5 separate regions of the Homo sapiens genome follow, and all the other regions are linked to region 2. Evidence: promoter capture Hi-C in human tissues and cell types (Jung and others, 2019). All regions are on one chromosome and are shown on one strand. The core of a region is centred on a gene start or on the middle of the fragment in contact, and the rest is flanking DNA. Distances in the headings are between cores, read along the strand shown.

Region 1 (2,700 bases), core at 190-2,689, 200 kb before region 2:
AGGCTTCAATATTTCTTTATAGCAGTGCGAGAATGGCCTAATACATCCTTCCCAGAGCATCTTTCTCCACGCCTCCTCCTCATTCTCTTGGCTTAAAAGTCACCTGGACAGAGACCCTCCTGGACCACTCCATCCAGCTGTGAGCATGCATTCAGCACACTCCTCACACGGGTTTCTCTCCTGTATAGGACTTTGTAACTAGGTGTTTTAGACTGAGCTGTAATTTACATACAGTAAAATGTCCAGATCTTAAGTGAACAATTGGATCAATTGTAACACAAATCTAAACATCTACACCCCATTAAGATATAAAATAGCTCCATCACCCCAGAACGTGGCCTCTTGCCCCTTCCCCACCAATCCCCCCGCCCCATTGCCCCATGGCATAATTCTGCCTATTCTAGCTCTTCCTATAAATAAAAGCATGAGTGCAGATTCTCCTGTGTCCAGCGTCCTCGGTTCAGGGGAAATGTTTTGGTGTTCATGAGTAGTATGTCCCCCAGTGCCCCATTGTGTGGGCGTCCTCATGGGGTATCCATTCTTCTAGGAAGATCCTGGGGCTGTTTCCAGTTCGAAGCCATTATTAATAAAGCTGCAAGGAAGAAATATTTTTATGGATGTGTGTTTTTATATCTCTGATAAATATATTCAACTGGAATCATTGGGTGTATTAGGCCATTCTCCCATTGCCAAAAAGAAATACCTGGCCAGGCGCAGTGGCTCACACCTGCAATCTCAGCACTTGGGTGGCTGAGGCAGGTGGTTCACCTGAGGTCAGGAGTTCGAGACCATCCTGACCAACATGGCAAAACCCCATCTCTACTAAAAATACAAAAATTGGCTGGGCGTGGTGTCAGGTGCCTGTAATCCCAGCTACTTGGAAGACTGAGGCAGGAGACTCGCTTGAACCCAGGAGGTGGAGGTTGCAGTGAGCCGAGATAGCACCATTGCACTGCAGCCTGGGCAACAAGAGCAAAACTCTGTTTGAAAGAATAAAAGGAATACCTGAGCCTGGTGAGCCAAGATTGTACTACTGCACTCCAGCCTGGGTGACAGAGTGAGACTGTCTCAAAAAAAAAAAAAAAAGAGATTTTTTAAAAAGAAAGAAAGAAAGAGAGACCTGAGTCTGGGCAATTTACAAAGAAAAGAGGTTGAATTGGCTCACGGTTCTGCAGGCTGTACAGGAAGCATGGCGGCATCTGCTCAGCTTCTGGGTAGGACTCAGGAAGCTTACAATCATGGAGGAAGGCGAAGGGGAAGCAGGCATATCATATGGCCAGAGCAGGAGCAAGAGAGACAGCATGGAGGTGCCACACACTTTTAAATAACTGAATCTCATGAGAACTCACTTACTCTCATGAGGACAGTACCAAGGACACACTATTAACCACGCTTGAGAAACTGTCCCCATGATCCTATCACCTCCCACCAGGTCCCACCTCCAACAGTGGGGACGACATTTCGATATGAGATTTGGGCGGGGACAATGTCCAAACTATATCACTGTGTTATGACATAGGATGAAAGCGCCTTTAATGATTTAAGAAACTCCCAAACAATTTGCCAGAGTGCTTTGCTAGGTTCCGTGCTCACCAGCAGCATCTGAGAACATAACAGGATTCTAATGTGTTGGCTTTACGCACCATCTGGCCCTCCTCACCCGCTAACATAAACGCCAGGGGAAAAGGGCCATGTCTCTTGGGCTCATCTCTGAATCAATGCCTAGCACAGGGACTGTCACTTACTAAGTGCTCAATAAACATTTGCTGAATGAATGAGGCATTTGTACTGCAGCTTTTCTTTCTGCTGCAAATTGGCCAGGGACCCACGTGCCTTACTGAGGATCAAACAGGCTGGGGTTCCTATCCTTTTGTGAATGTGGAGGCATTGGAGGCAGGAGGGAGGGCTATCACATGGCCACCCTGGGGAGTGTCTGATGAGAGTACTAGGGGTTTCCCTAGCACTGGGAAAAAGGGAAGGGAGGCCCCAAAGAGTTCTATTCAGAGCACGGCCCATACTGCTTTATTGTGAAAGTTTCTGAGCCAGGTGTAACCAAATGCTCGCTGCTGCCAAGATAAAGTCTCAGGAAGGAACTTACAGAGGACTCCCAGGGGAATTCCCATAAGAAAACCTTTGTAACTGCAACCAAGTGAGGTCACTTTTTGGATGGAGATAATAAAGTGGGGACATAGCTACCCAAAATGAGCCCTTGGGAAAAAAAATGAACGGAGAGGTTTTCTTTTTGCCTGTAATTAGCTAGATGTTTCATTTGTGTGTTTGAGGCACTCACAGAGGAAGAAAATGGAATGTGACATCTGCTTTATAAGGGAAAGCTTGTTAGTGAAAGATAGAGATGGGCCGGGGGGGGATGCACACTCCCCACCAATCTAAAAGTCATGTCAGGTCACTAAAAAGCATTTTAAAGGAAAAGGCCTGATAAGCATAAGAAAAGGCACTCAAGTTCATTAGTCATCAGGAAATGCAAAGCAAAACCACCCTGAGATTACCATCATACACCCACCTGAGGGGCTGAAATTTCAAAGCGCATGAGATACCGAGCTTTGGCAAGAACATGGAGCAACTGGAACCCTTGCCTACTGCTCATGGGTGTGGAGACTGATACTCTGGAAGACTGATAGGCAGATTTACTATTGAACAAACACATAGTCTGTGGCCCAGCAAAGCCACCCCTGAGCAGTT
Region 2 (2,700 bases), core at 3-2,502:
ACATGCTAATGGGTTTCTTCTTGGGGTGATGAAAATGTCCTAAAGTTAGACAGCAGTAAGGGTTGCACAACCTTGTGACTACACTAAAAACCACTGAAGTATAACTTTAAAAGGGTGAATTGAATGGTATGTGAATTATATCTCAAGAAAACAAACTCAGCTGGCATCAGCCCCTGCCCCACCCTGTGGTAAAGCTGGGTCCTTGTTGGCTGGTGAGGGCTCTCCTAATCTGCACCCCCTCCTCACCTCCAGACCCACGGCATTGCTGCTCCTGGAACCCCAGCCGTCCCCTGTGCTCTGCTCTTCTGTTCTCCGTGTGCCCAGCTCTTCCCCCCACACCTAGGTACCCGGCCCCTCCCAGCCTTCACCTGCGCCTTTACAGAGGCCCCATCAGACCACCGGGCCCCCCACCCTCCACACGCCCACCCCGTGAAGAGACTCCCTTTCCCCTGGCTCTTCTGAATTTCTGGCATACTATACGATTTCCTTATTTTTCCTTATTTTTATTTTTTAATAGAGACGGGGTCTCACTATGTTACCCAGGCTGGTCTCGAACCCCTTGTCTCAATCAATCCTGCCTCAGCCTCCCAAAGTGCGGGCATTGCAGGCTGAGCCACCACGGCCGCCACGACCTTCTCTTCTGGAGCGTGTCGCTTTTGTAATTATGATGTAAACTCCGGGCACGCGGGGACCCTCGCGCTTCGCTCACTAATTTGTCCCCAGACCCTACTACCTGGCACAGTAGGCGCTCAATACTGTTGATTGAATAAACGACTGCTACTTTGGAAATCATGTATTATTTAAATCACATGTTTAAACGCACATAAACTTCTGAGTAGTGTTTTCTGCACACACAAGATGTCTCCAGGGGCACCAAAGAATGCATTTTCCACGTTTGTCCCTAAACGTTAATGCATAAGTAACCTTGGTCACCAACAGATGTGAGGGCACGTGACGTTCGGGCTGCGCCCTCCCCGCCCCGGCCCTGCACACAGTAGGGCCGCACCGCGCTTTGCAAACAGGTGGACTCGGCAGAGGCGCGACCGCCCTCACCGCAGAGAGCTGGGCCACCTGCAGGCTCTCAGGACACCCAAGGCCCCACCTCCCACCCGGAAAAGAGACGATACGCCGGGCGCAGGCGCAGAAGCCGCGCCCGTCCGCGGCGCCGCCAGCCAGGGCGGAAACGGCTGCGGCTTCGCTAGGGACGCATGCGCGGGTCCCTTAGTTTTCGCGAGATAACGGTCGAAAACGCGCTCTTGTCGATTTCCTGTAGTGAATCAGGCACCGGAGTGCAGGTTCGGGGGTGGAATCCTTGGGCCGCTGGGCAAGCGGCGAGACCTGGCCAGGGCCAGCGAGCCGAGGACAGAGGGCGCACGGAGGGCCGGGCCGCAGCCCCGGCCGCTTGCAGACCCCGCCATGGACCCGTTCCTGGTGCTGCTGCACTCGGTGTCGTCCAGCCTGTCGAGCAGCGAGCTGACCGAGCTCAAGTTCCTATGCCTCGGGCGCGTGGGCAAGCGCAAGCTGGAGCGCGTGCAGAGCGGCCTAGACCTCTTCTCCATGCTGCTGGAGCAGAACGACCTGGAGCCCGGGCACACCGAGCTCCTGCGCGAGCTGCTCGCCTCCCTGCGGCGCCACGACCTGCTGCGGCGCGTCGACGACTTCGAGGCGGGGGCGGCGGCCGGGGCCGCGCCTGGGGAAGAAGGTGGGCGCGGGGCCGGGCCGGGGGAGCCAGGGCCTGGTCGCCCGGCTGTAGGTGCTGCGAGGCTCCTCCGGTTGGCCTCCAGGCGCCTCCCCTTTGCCGGGTTTGATTTGCGTGGGTTTTCTCCGTACAGCCCTGGTTTTGCAGATGGGAGAGCCAGAAACGCAGAAAAGTTAACTTATTCGAGGTTGCAGGGCGTGGACACGCACAGTCCTTTTTCCTCCACCCACTTCTGCCCGGGTAAATTAGAAAACTCACTGAAGAAAAGATGAGTCAGAGAAGGTGTGGGGGAGGGGCAGAGGTTGGGTGAGCCTGCCTCGCATCATTTCCTTTCTGTCTCGGAATATGCTTTTCACGGCTGTCTGAGAGTAATACTAGCATTCAGTAACTCCTACCCAGGGGCTTACAGTGTGCCGCTTACCCTTGTAACTGCCAAATACAATTTTCGCAGTAGCCCTGTGGCTTAGATACTGTTAGCTATCACTGTTCCCATTTTACAGAGGACAGGACTGTGGCTCACAGGTTAAGTGGCTTTGTCGAAATGCGCAGCCGATAACTGACGGAGCTAGGCTTGAGCCAAGCAGTCCGGCCTCCGGATGGGTAGTGTTAGCCACTACACTGCCTCTCTGGTCAAGTTCATTGTGGAGTGGCTTCCTGTCCTGCTCTCGGTCACTCCCTCTCCACCCTCGCCTGTGGATTGCAGCAGCTTCCAGGATAAAAAAGAAACCCTGAGTACAGCAGAGTTTCTCAGCCCTACCCCCCTTGTTCTCAGAGTCGGGAGAGGCTTGGGAGTGCTCTGGGGACGCCTCTCAGAGGCTTCAAGCTGTAGCTTGGAATCAGCCATTCAGTCACCAATCAGATAGGGCCTAAATGTGTCACCATGGGTTTCACTCTGTAAAGACTGGTGCCTGTTGGGGACAGGATGGACAGAACAGCTCTCTGCCTGAGAGCAGTCAAGTCCAGATTTTAAAAAAAATCAGTACTGAACAAACAAAACAGGA
Region 3 (2,700 bases), core at 201-2,700, 220 kb before region 2:
CTTACGGTAGCAGAGCACAAACTCTGGAGCTGGGCTGCTTATGTGCAAGCCCCACTCTCCCACTTACTGCTGTGTGACCTTGGGCAAGTCACTTCACCTCTCTGAGCCTCTGATTCCTTATCTGTAAAGTAGGAATGATAGGAGCACGTACTACGTAGACTTGCTGCACGGATTCGATGAGCCGATATTTATTAAGCGCTTGGAACGGGGCCTGGCACACAATAAGTGCTCTCTAAGTGTTTGTTAAATAAACAGACTTGCCTAAGGAGAAGCCCAGGCAGAGATCTTGCCTCTTCTGTCCAAGGGCCCCTCTGCAAGTTTAGCCTGCTTCAGCTGCAGGTCCTCTGTATCAGAGCGGAGGACTGTCACTCCAGCAACAGCGCTTTGCTGCTGGGAGCCCCTGGTATCAGTGGTGAGCAGCTGCCTCGGAGGCTGGGCTGACAGCAGCTGCCTCCAGCCCTCCTCTCCCGCTAGCCCTGCGCAGCCACTGAGCTCTCTGCCCAGCCCCACCCCAGCCCCTGCAGGCGCCTTTGTGGGCTCTCTCTAGTCCCTTCCAAAGACCCTTTGGAAACAGTCCAAATGGCTATCCAAGAAGAAATGGATAAACAAATTGTAGTACACCCAGACCATGGAATATTATTCAGCCATAAAAAGAAATGCGATTCTGATACATGCTATAATGTGGAGCAAACTCCAAACATAATGAAAGAAGCCAGACACGAAAGACCATGTAATGTATGATTCCATTTATATGAAATGTCCAGAATGGATAAATCCATAGAGACAGAAGGCAGGCCAATGGTTGCCAGGGACTGGGGGAGGGGGGAGATGGGGAGTGACTGCTAGCGGGTTCGAGCTGTACTCTGCGGGAATGGGAATATTCTGGATAGAAATGTGGGTGCTCAACACTGTGAATGCACTAAATGCCACCGAGTTGAACACTTAAAAATGATCAATTTTATCTTATGTGAATGTCACCCCAGTGAATTGTTTAATTACAATAAGACCCCCTTAACCCTGTTGAGTATAGCCACCAGGGGCCCCCGTTACTCGCCAGATGCCCCACCTGAACCTGCTACACTGGGCTGCTCCCATCCCTGTCTGGGTGCCCACTTCTCCACCTTGGTGCTTCCACCCAGCCTCTGCCAGAACCCCCTAAAAGTCACCGTCCACCTTGAAAAACCCACCCACTCTCCGGTTGCCCCAGGGCAGGGGCCACCAAGAGCTCCAATCGGCTCTTCTGGGAGCAGCCTCCACCTGCATTTCAGTGTTCTACCATGTTTCCCTGTCTGACTAGGATGAATATGATGCAAATAATAATGCCCTCTAATCCCTACAGCATGTCAGGTTTTGGGCTGGAAGCTGAATTCTTGTCCTATCCCTACAGAATTCCAACCTGTTGCCAAGACCCATTTTACAGATGCACAAACCCGGGTGCTGAGAAGAAGCTTGTTCCAGACGGGACTGACTCTGTTAGGCTGCAGAGGCCATAGGCCCGGCTTCTGCACCAGCTTGCTCACTCCTCCAGGCTGGAGGCTGGACCTGGAGGGCTGGGGCTTTGTTTTGCTCCCTTTGCGCCTCCCATTCCCCTTCCAACCTGAGAAAGGGCTCTACCCATGGCAGGCATTCAAAGAGCCAAGCCGAACTGAAAACAGACTTCCTGAGATCATGCGAAATCAGCATTTAAATGACCTGTGGCCTTGTATGTGTTCTGATGATGAGTGACAGTGGGGGCAGGGTGTACGTGACAATCTATCCTGTCCTGAGTCATCTGAGGGTCCAGAGAAGGTCAATGAGGAAAGGAGAAATGCACAGAGGGAGGCGTGATTGCAGGTGGTGCGCCTGTGGGCCGAGTCAGCTCTGAGCTGACATCTGCTGAGACCCAGCAGCATTGGGGAGCAGAGGAGACCTGCATGATGGTGCTGGTGGCCTTGATGAAACCACAGCAAGATCAGAGTCCCTGCAAGTCCCCAGCATCTGATCATGCTCCGGCTTGGGGTAGGTCTGTGCCTACCCCCAAGCCAGGCCCAAGGCCTCACCCTACGAAACCTATTTTAAACCCCGCCCAATTCAGGGGATGAGTACCAGTGCTGGCCTCACCAAGAGCTGCCTTCTCTCCCTCCCTCGCCGCCTCGCCAAAAAGGGAAACCATTTTTCTGTAATTACAAGCATTGTGCTGTGTGATTACTGTATTCCGTAATGACGGCTGTGTGTTGTAATGACAGGCACGCCACCTCCCCGAGCCAGTGCACTGGCCCCACTCTGCTGTTGACATAAATATCTTCCTGCCATGCCCAGGGTGTCGGGGAGGCCCTCAGCTTCAGAGGGTCTGCAGCGTGGGGTTCCCCAGAAAATAAGCAGGGTGCTCCGGGTGCTCCTCTTCCAGGCCACCCTCTCCTGCGGGCCACATGGGCAGCCCAGCCTTCCCCAGCCTGGCATCACTATCACGTGATGCCACTTACCAAAATAGCAGCCGAGAGCAATCTTTTTAAAAATGAGCTGGTTCAGGTATTTACTAAAATATCACTTTTAAACGTCTGGGTCTTCGACTGGCATTTTTGCATATGTTGGCCACAGCTGAAGGGTTTCATCCGAACGCAACTTAATTGGAGCCAAGAAAATGAAAAGAAGAAAAAGCGGCTTCAATCGGAATGAATCAACATCTATTAATGGCTGTTTAACATATTTCTGCTAATAATC
Region 4 (2,700 bases), core at 74-2,573, 170 kb before region 2:
TCCTGAGACTGTTGTAACAAACCACCATCAACTGGGGGCCTTCAGCAACAGAAATTTATTCCCTCACCATTAGGAGGCCAGAAGTCCAAAATCAAGGTGCCAATCAGGCCACACTCCCTTGGAAGGATCTGGAGTAGAATCCTTCCTTGCCCCGTACAGTCCCTGGTGACTCCAGGTGTCCCTTGGCTAAGGCACATCACCCCAATCTCTGCCGCTGTCTTTACCTGGCCTTTTCCTCTTCTACCTGTGTCTCTCCTCTGTGTGTCCTTTACAGTTGTCCCTGGATTTGGGGGTCACTTGGATAATCCAGGGTGATCTCATCTTGAAATTCCTAATTACTCTATAAAACCCTCATTTCAAATAAGTTCACGGTCACAGGTTCTGAGGTTAGGGCATAGGCTCAGTTTTCTGGGGTACTGCTCAGCCCACTGGTAAGGAAGGCCTGCTCGGTGACTCTTCCTCCTTGACAATAAAGACAAAAAGGGCTGAGGACCCTCTCTCTTCTATGCTGGCCCTGATGTCTGACTGTGTGTGGTTTGTTTGTGTTTTTGTTTTGTTTTGTTTTGTTTTTTTAAGACAGAGTCTCGCTTTGTCGCCCAGGCTGGAGTGCAGTAGCACGATCTCGGCTCACTGCAAGCTCCACCTCCCGGGTTCATGCCATTCTCCTGCCTCAGCCTCCCAAGTAGCTGGGACTATAGGCACCCGCCACCACACCCGGCTAATTTTTTGTATTTTTAGTAGAGATGGGGTTTCACCGTGTTAGCCAGGATGGTCTCAATCTCCTGACCTCGTGATCTGCCCGCCTCAGCCTCCCAAAGTGTTGGGATTACAGGCGTGAGCCACCGTGCCTAGCCTGTATGTGGTTTTTTACATGCCTGCCTTTCTCTCCCGAGGCTGGGGCCATGTCTCAGGCATGTCTGTGTGCTCAACATCTCAGGCAGCAGCTGTGCCTGACTGTCACTCAATAAACATGTGTGCAACGAACAAATGAATGACTTGTAGGGTTCCTTCCTCTCTCATCTGTCGGCCTTTAGTGCCATCCATCTTCCCTAACACAGAAGTCCCTGCCTTCAAGAGGTACACCCAGGTGGAAGTGCCTCTCGGAACTCCACCCTGAGAAATCCAGCTTAGGCGGCCCAGCCTGTTTTGCTCCTCCTGATTGAGATTTGCAGGCAGGGAAGGACAGGTGTGACAGGGACCTGGGCAATACTCAGTGGAGCAGGGCAGGTGGGGGTTTGGAATTGGTCTCAGGAGCTGTTGGGAACTGTGGAGAAAGAGAAGAATTGGGATTTGGGAATAGTTAATGTATAGGGGTGGTTGGAACAAATGAGCAAGATATGATTACAAATGGGGCTATGGAGGACCAAGCTCACCTTCTGAGGACACCACACGCAGAAAGCAAGCAGAGAAAGGAAAGGCAGGAGACCATCGCGGGGCAGAGGGAGGCCCAAGCATGAAGGTGGGTCACAGACGCCAAGGAAGGACCCAGGTGGCCTAGTGGGAAAACACAACCTTCAAGGGCAAGCCAGCATGGATGCAAACCTGCCTCTACTGCATGACAGCTGAGGGGTCCCTGGGAGAGGCGCTCCCTGAGCCTCAGCTTTGACTTCTGAAAAGGTTGCTTGAAGACTTGAAACTCTATACCCGAAGCACCTCATGGAACAGCTGCCAGGAAACCCGGTTTTTTCTGCTTGTTGAGTACTCACTAGGCGCTGGGCTCTGGGCAAGTAGTTTACCACATAGTCATTTGACTCTCACATCAACCCCTGGGATGAGCACAATTACTGCCATTTGCAGCTGGGGAAACTGAGGCAGGTAAGAAACTTGTCTATGGTCACTCATCTTATTCCATGGCAGGGTCTTGAATTACAACCCAAGGAGAAAGCAGTGAACTGCTACTCCTGCTGCAAAGAAAAGGTGAGTGAGCATGAGGATTAAAACGTGACTGTCGTGGCCAGTCGCAGTGGCTCATGCCTGTAATTCCAGCACTTTGGGAGGCTGAGGCAGGAGGTTTGTGTGAGGAATGGAGAAGTTCTTCTTCAAAGTTTCTTAAAACCATAAAGAGCTTGTCATTTCTTTGCTCTATGCATATCTATATATGTTCCAATGCAGCTGCTCTGACTTGACCTGGCATTCTTGGACAAGGTTAAGCAAGACCCAGACCATAGTGCATGCCATTCCTTATTTGGAAACCCTCCTGACCCTCTCATGACTAGCTTCCTCTTTTCTTTGTTCTCTTTCCCCTTTGCCTATTTAGAAAAGTTTCAAGCTGTTAGCCAATCGGGTCAAGCTTAGAATGTGAGGTCCCATTCCGACCAATGGAAATGTGACACAGCCATAGGACAATTGCATCAGGTTACAAAGATTATAAACATCCCCATCTCCTTTGTTCGGGTGTGCTCTCACGGCAAGACTGCTAGTGAGCAGCACCCTTTCTGCAGAAAGTAAACTAGCCTTGCTGAGAGATCCTTTGTCTCAGTGTTGATTTTGCGACACCGAGCACCCATTTCCAACAATTTGGTGGGCCATACAGGGACTCTGTTTCCCCTCTGGGACAGTCCTTGGTCCTCTCTTGTGGGGAGGTGCCCTGCCACCCTATTGCAGTGGCCCCCAGGGAGAGAGCCAGGACTTACCTGGTGCAAGAAACACATTTGGATTCTCAGCAATGCAGGGGAGAAGGAGAGACTTTCAAAACCGCAG
Region 5 (2,700 bases), core at 201-2,700, 130 kb after region 2:
CCGGGCATGGTGGCATGTGCCTTTAGCCCTAGCTACTCAGGAGGCTAAGGAGGGAGGATGACTTGAGCCCTGGAGTTCAAGGCTTCATTGTGCTATGATTGTGCCACTGGACTCCAGCCTGGGCCACAGAACGAGACCCCGTCTCTAAAATAAAAAATGCGGCCAGGCGCGGTGGCTCACACCTGTAATCCCAGCACTTTGGGAGGCCGAGGCAGGTGGATCATGAGGTCAGGCATTTGAGACCAGCCTGACCAACATGGTGAAACTGCGTCTCTACTAAAAATACAAAAATTAGCTGGGCTTGGTGGCGCGCATCTGTAATCCCAGCTGCTACTCAGGAGGCTGAGGCAGGAGAATCGCTTGAACCCAAGAGGCGGAGGTTGCAGTGAGCCGAGATTGTGCCACTGCACTCCAGCCTGGGTGACACAGCTAGACTCCGTCTCAAAAAAAAAAAAAAGGCAGTGAAGTCTGTAGTAAGAAATTGGGTCTCCTGTGGTTTCGTAAACCATACTTATTCTTGTAATTACGAGTATCACTGTATTCCAGCCTGGGTGACAGAGCAAGACTCTGTCTTTAAACAAACAAAAAAAAAGCTTCTTAAAAGTTATTTAGGAAAAGCAAACACTTTGACAAGAGGTGTTTTGCACATTGAAACCAAGACCAGGAAAGTGGGCATGTACTCCTGGCAGCAAGAAAACCTTACCCAGGCCGGGCACAGTGGCGCACACCTGTAATCCCACCACTTTGGGAGGCTGAGGCGGGTGGATCACTTGAGGTTAGGAGTTCAAGACCAGCCTGGCCAACATGCCGAAGTCCTGTCTCTACTAAAAATACAAAAATTAGCCAGACCTGGTGGCACATGCCTGTAATTGCAGCTACTCAGGAGGCTGAGGCAGGAGAATTGCTTGAACTCAGGAGGTGGAGGTTGCAGTGAGCCAAGATTGTGCCACTGCACTCCAGCCTGGGTGACAAAGCGAGACTATGTCTCAAAAACAAAAACAAAAACAAAAACAAAAACAAAAACCTGACCCAGAAGCAACTCCCATCACTGTAGCTCTTCCATCATGACTCTCTTAGTCTGTATCTGCATTTCAGTTTGTTTCAATCTGTTAAAAACTGATCAGCTAGAAGATTTGTTGCATTTTGATGCTTTGCTCTCATTTTATAGACTGAAGATAAAAACCGCCAGTTACAGGAGCGCTTGGAATTGGCAGAGCAAAAGCTGCAACAGACACTGAGGAAGGCAGAGACGCTCCCGGAGGTGGAGGCGGAGCTGGCCCAGAGGGTGGCAGCGCTTTCCAAGGTAGTGCCATGAGCTTCATTCTGGTTCGGCTGCCAGGCCTGTGACTGTGCCTTGCCTGTGTACCTTGTTTGTCACTGTTCTTATTACATCAGCACCTAAATCCGTGGAAGAGCACGGATTTGGTTTGAGTGCTCTTTCATCTGAGATTGGAACACTTTGTAAATGCCAGACATGATCCTTTTATCCCGAAGTCTACCTTGGTTTTGTGAGCTGTATACTATTTGTCCACGGCATGTGTGATCTGAGAGTTACTGCTTCTTAGAATTGTTTTGGTCACCAGCTTAAGCATAGGATAGAAGTCTCTGTAAAAGAAGGGTAGTTTTTCTCAGAAATAGGAAGATGCCGTTCTTTTAAAAACACCATCAAGATAAATTCTTCATAAACACATTTTTAAGTAATTTTATTATTTTGAAATTACTTAAAAATGTATTTTTAAGTAATATTTATTATTTTGAAATTACTTAAAAATGTGTTTTTAAGTAATATTTATTCATTTGTCCAACAACTGTTGACTAGGCATGTGCAAGACACAGTCCCTCCAAGTTCTCCCCATTCATGAGGGAAGCAGCTAAAGAGGCAAATGCTGTCATAGGTCCTGGGATCGGCGAGTACCCAGGGAGCGCATCACCGGGCACAAACCCAGCCTCTGGGGCGTGGGGAGCCCAGCACTGCAGTGCCAGGCAGGCGAGCAGCAGGAGCTGAGGCCCCTGTCTGTCGTCCTGAGTCTTCTTGCTCAAGCTTTTCAAGCTGCTGGGGAGGGCATCCTTCTGGACCATTCAGATGGTTTTAGGGCTCACACACCTGTTCCTTCTAGCAAGTTTGTTGCTAACAGCTGTAAGAACCTATCCTCCCACTCCATGATCTGCTTTTAAAGTCTCGATTTCTTTTCTCCCCTGTTATCTTTCCTGTCCCTTGTCGGCTTTGTAGTCTGACCTTTTGTCTTCTGGGAGCTCTGCTGCTAAGGAAGCTAAACTGTTGGAACTTACTTCCAAGCTTAGGAAGGTAGAATGGGTGCACTGCTCCTTGCTTGTGCTTGCCGCTGCTTTCTGCTTTCCATGCTTACTAACCAGAAGCAGTCCAAGGATGGGAGAATCACGACTCCATTGAGATTGGGCATAGGGGTTGGGGGGAAAACACCCAGTCAGTCGCCAGCAGCAGCCATGCTTCAGAATCACCAACACAAGAGGGCTAGCCACCTCATGGCCCAGCACGTGAAGCCCCGTAGGCTGTGTTGATGGATGAGTACATGCTTTCCATTTAGTATGGCGGAGCAGCCCACGCAGAGCATGTTGTGCCTGTTGCCACTGCAGTGGTATGCAGCATGTCGTTAATGAAGTGTAAGGATGACGTCAGCGTACGCTGTTTCTGCTGACAGGCTGAAGAGAGACACGGCAACA

The links. Contacts are between HindIII fragments. The study calls those that stand out against the background at their distance.
Region 1: a fragment that was not itself captured here is called in contact with the fragment with the promoter of FADD in region 2 in 2 of the 25 tissues and cell types used here (lymphoblastoid cells and mesendoderm cells).
Region 3: a fragment that was not itself captured here is called in contact with the fragment with the promoter of FADD in region 2 in 1 of the 25 tissues and cell types used here (H1 embryonic stem cells).
Region 4: a fragment that was not itself captured here is called in contact with the fragment with the promoter of FADD in region 2 in 4 of the 25 tissues and cell types used here (heart left ventricle, liver, mesenchymal stem cells and 1 more).
Region 5: a fragment that was not itself captured here is called in contact with the fragment with the promoter of FADD in region 2 in 1 of the 25 tissues and cell types used here (H1 embryonic stem cells).

Annotation. Positions count from the first base shown.
Region 1 is chr11:69,997,962-70,000,661 of GRCh38, forward strand. It overlaps a transcript of ANO1 not described here. Among named protein-coding and RNA genes, the nearest start is that of LINC02753, 66 kb to the right of the region's middle. The HindIII fragment of the contact is 5,000 bases long and covers 1-2,700 here.
Region 2 is chr11:70,202,044-70,204,743 of GRCh38, forward strand. FADD (Fas associated via death domain) reads left to right here and starts at 1,253. Exons shown (of 2, transcript NM_003824.4): 1 at 1,253-1,702. The coding sequence starts at 1,417. RefSeq lists silencers at 1,663-1,742, 1,792-1,983. The HindIII fragment of the contact is 27,989 bases long and covers 1-2,700 here.
Region 3 is chr11:69,981,210-69,983,909 of GRCh38, forward strand. It overlaps a transcript of ANO1 not described here. Among named protein-coding and RNA genes, the nearest start is that of LINC02753, 83 kb to the right of the region's middle. RefSeq lists enhancers at 1-683, 684-1,406. The HindIII fragment of the contact is 4,687 bases long and covers 1-2,700 here.
Region 4 is chr11:70,036,053-70,038,752 of GRCh38, forward strand. It overlaps a transcript of ANO1 not described here. Among named protein-coding and RNA genes, the nearest start is that of LINC02753, 28 kb to the right of the region's middle. The HindIII fragment of the contact is 7,069 bases long and covers 1-2,700 here.
Region 5 is chr11:70,330,792-70,333,491 of GRCh38, forward strand. PPFIA1 (PPFI scaffold protein A1) reads left to right here. Exons shown (of 28, transcript NM_003626.5): 9 at 1,169-1,303; 10 at 2,679-2,700. Among named protein-coding and RNA genes, the nearest start is that of MIR548K, 48 kb to the left of the region's middle. The HindIII fragment of the contact is 3,804 bases long and covers 1-2,700 here.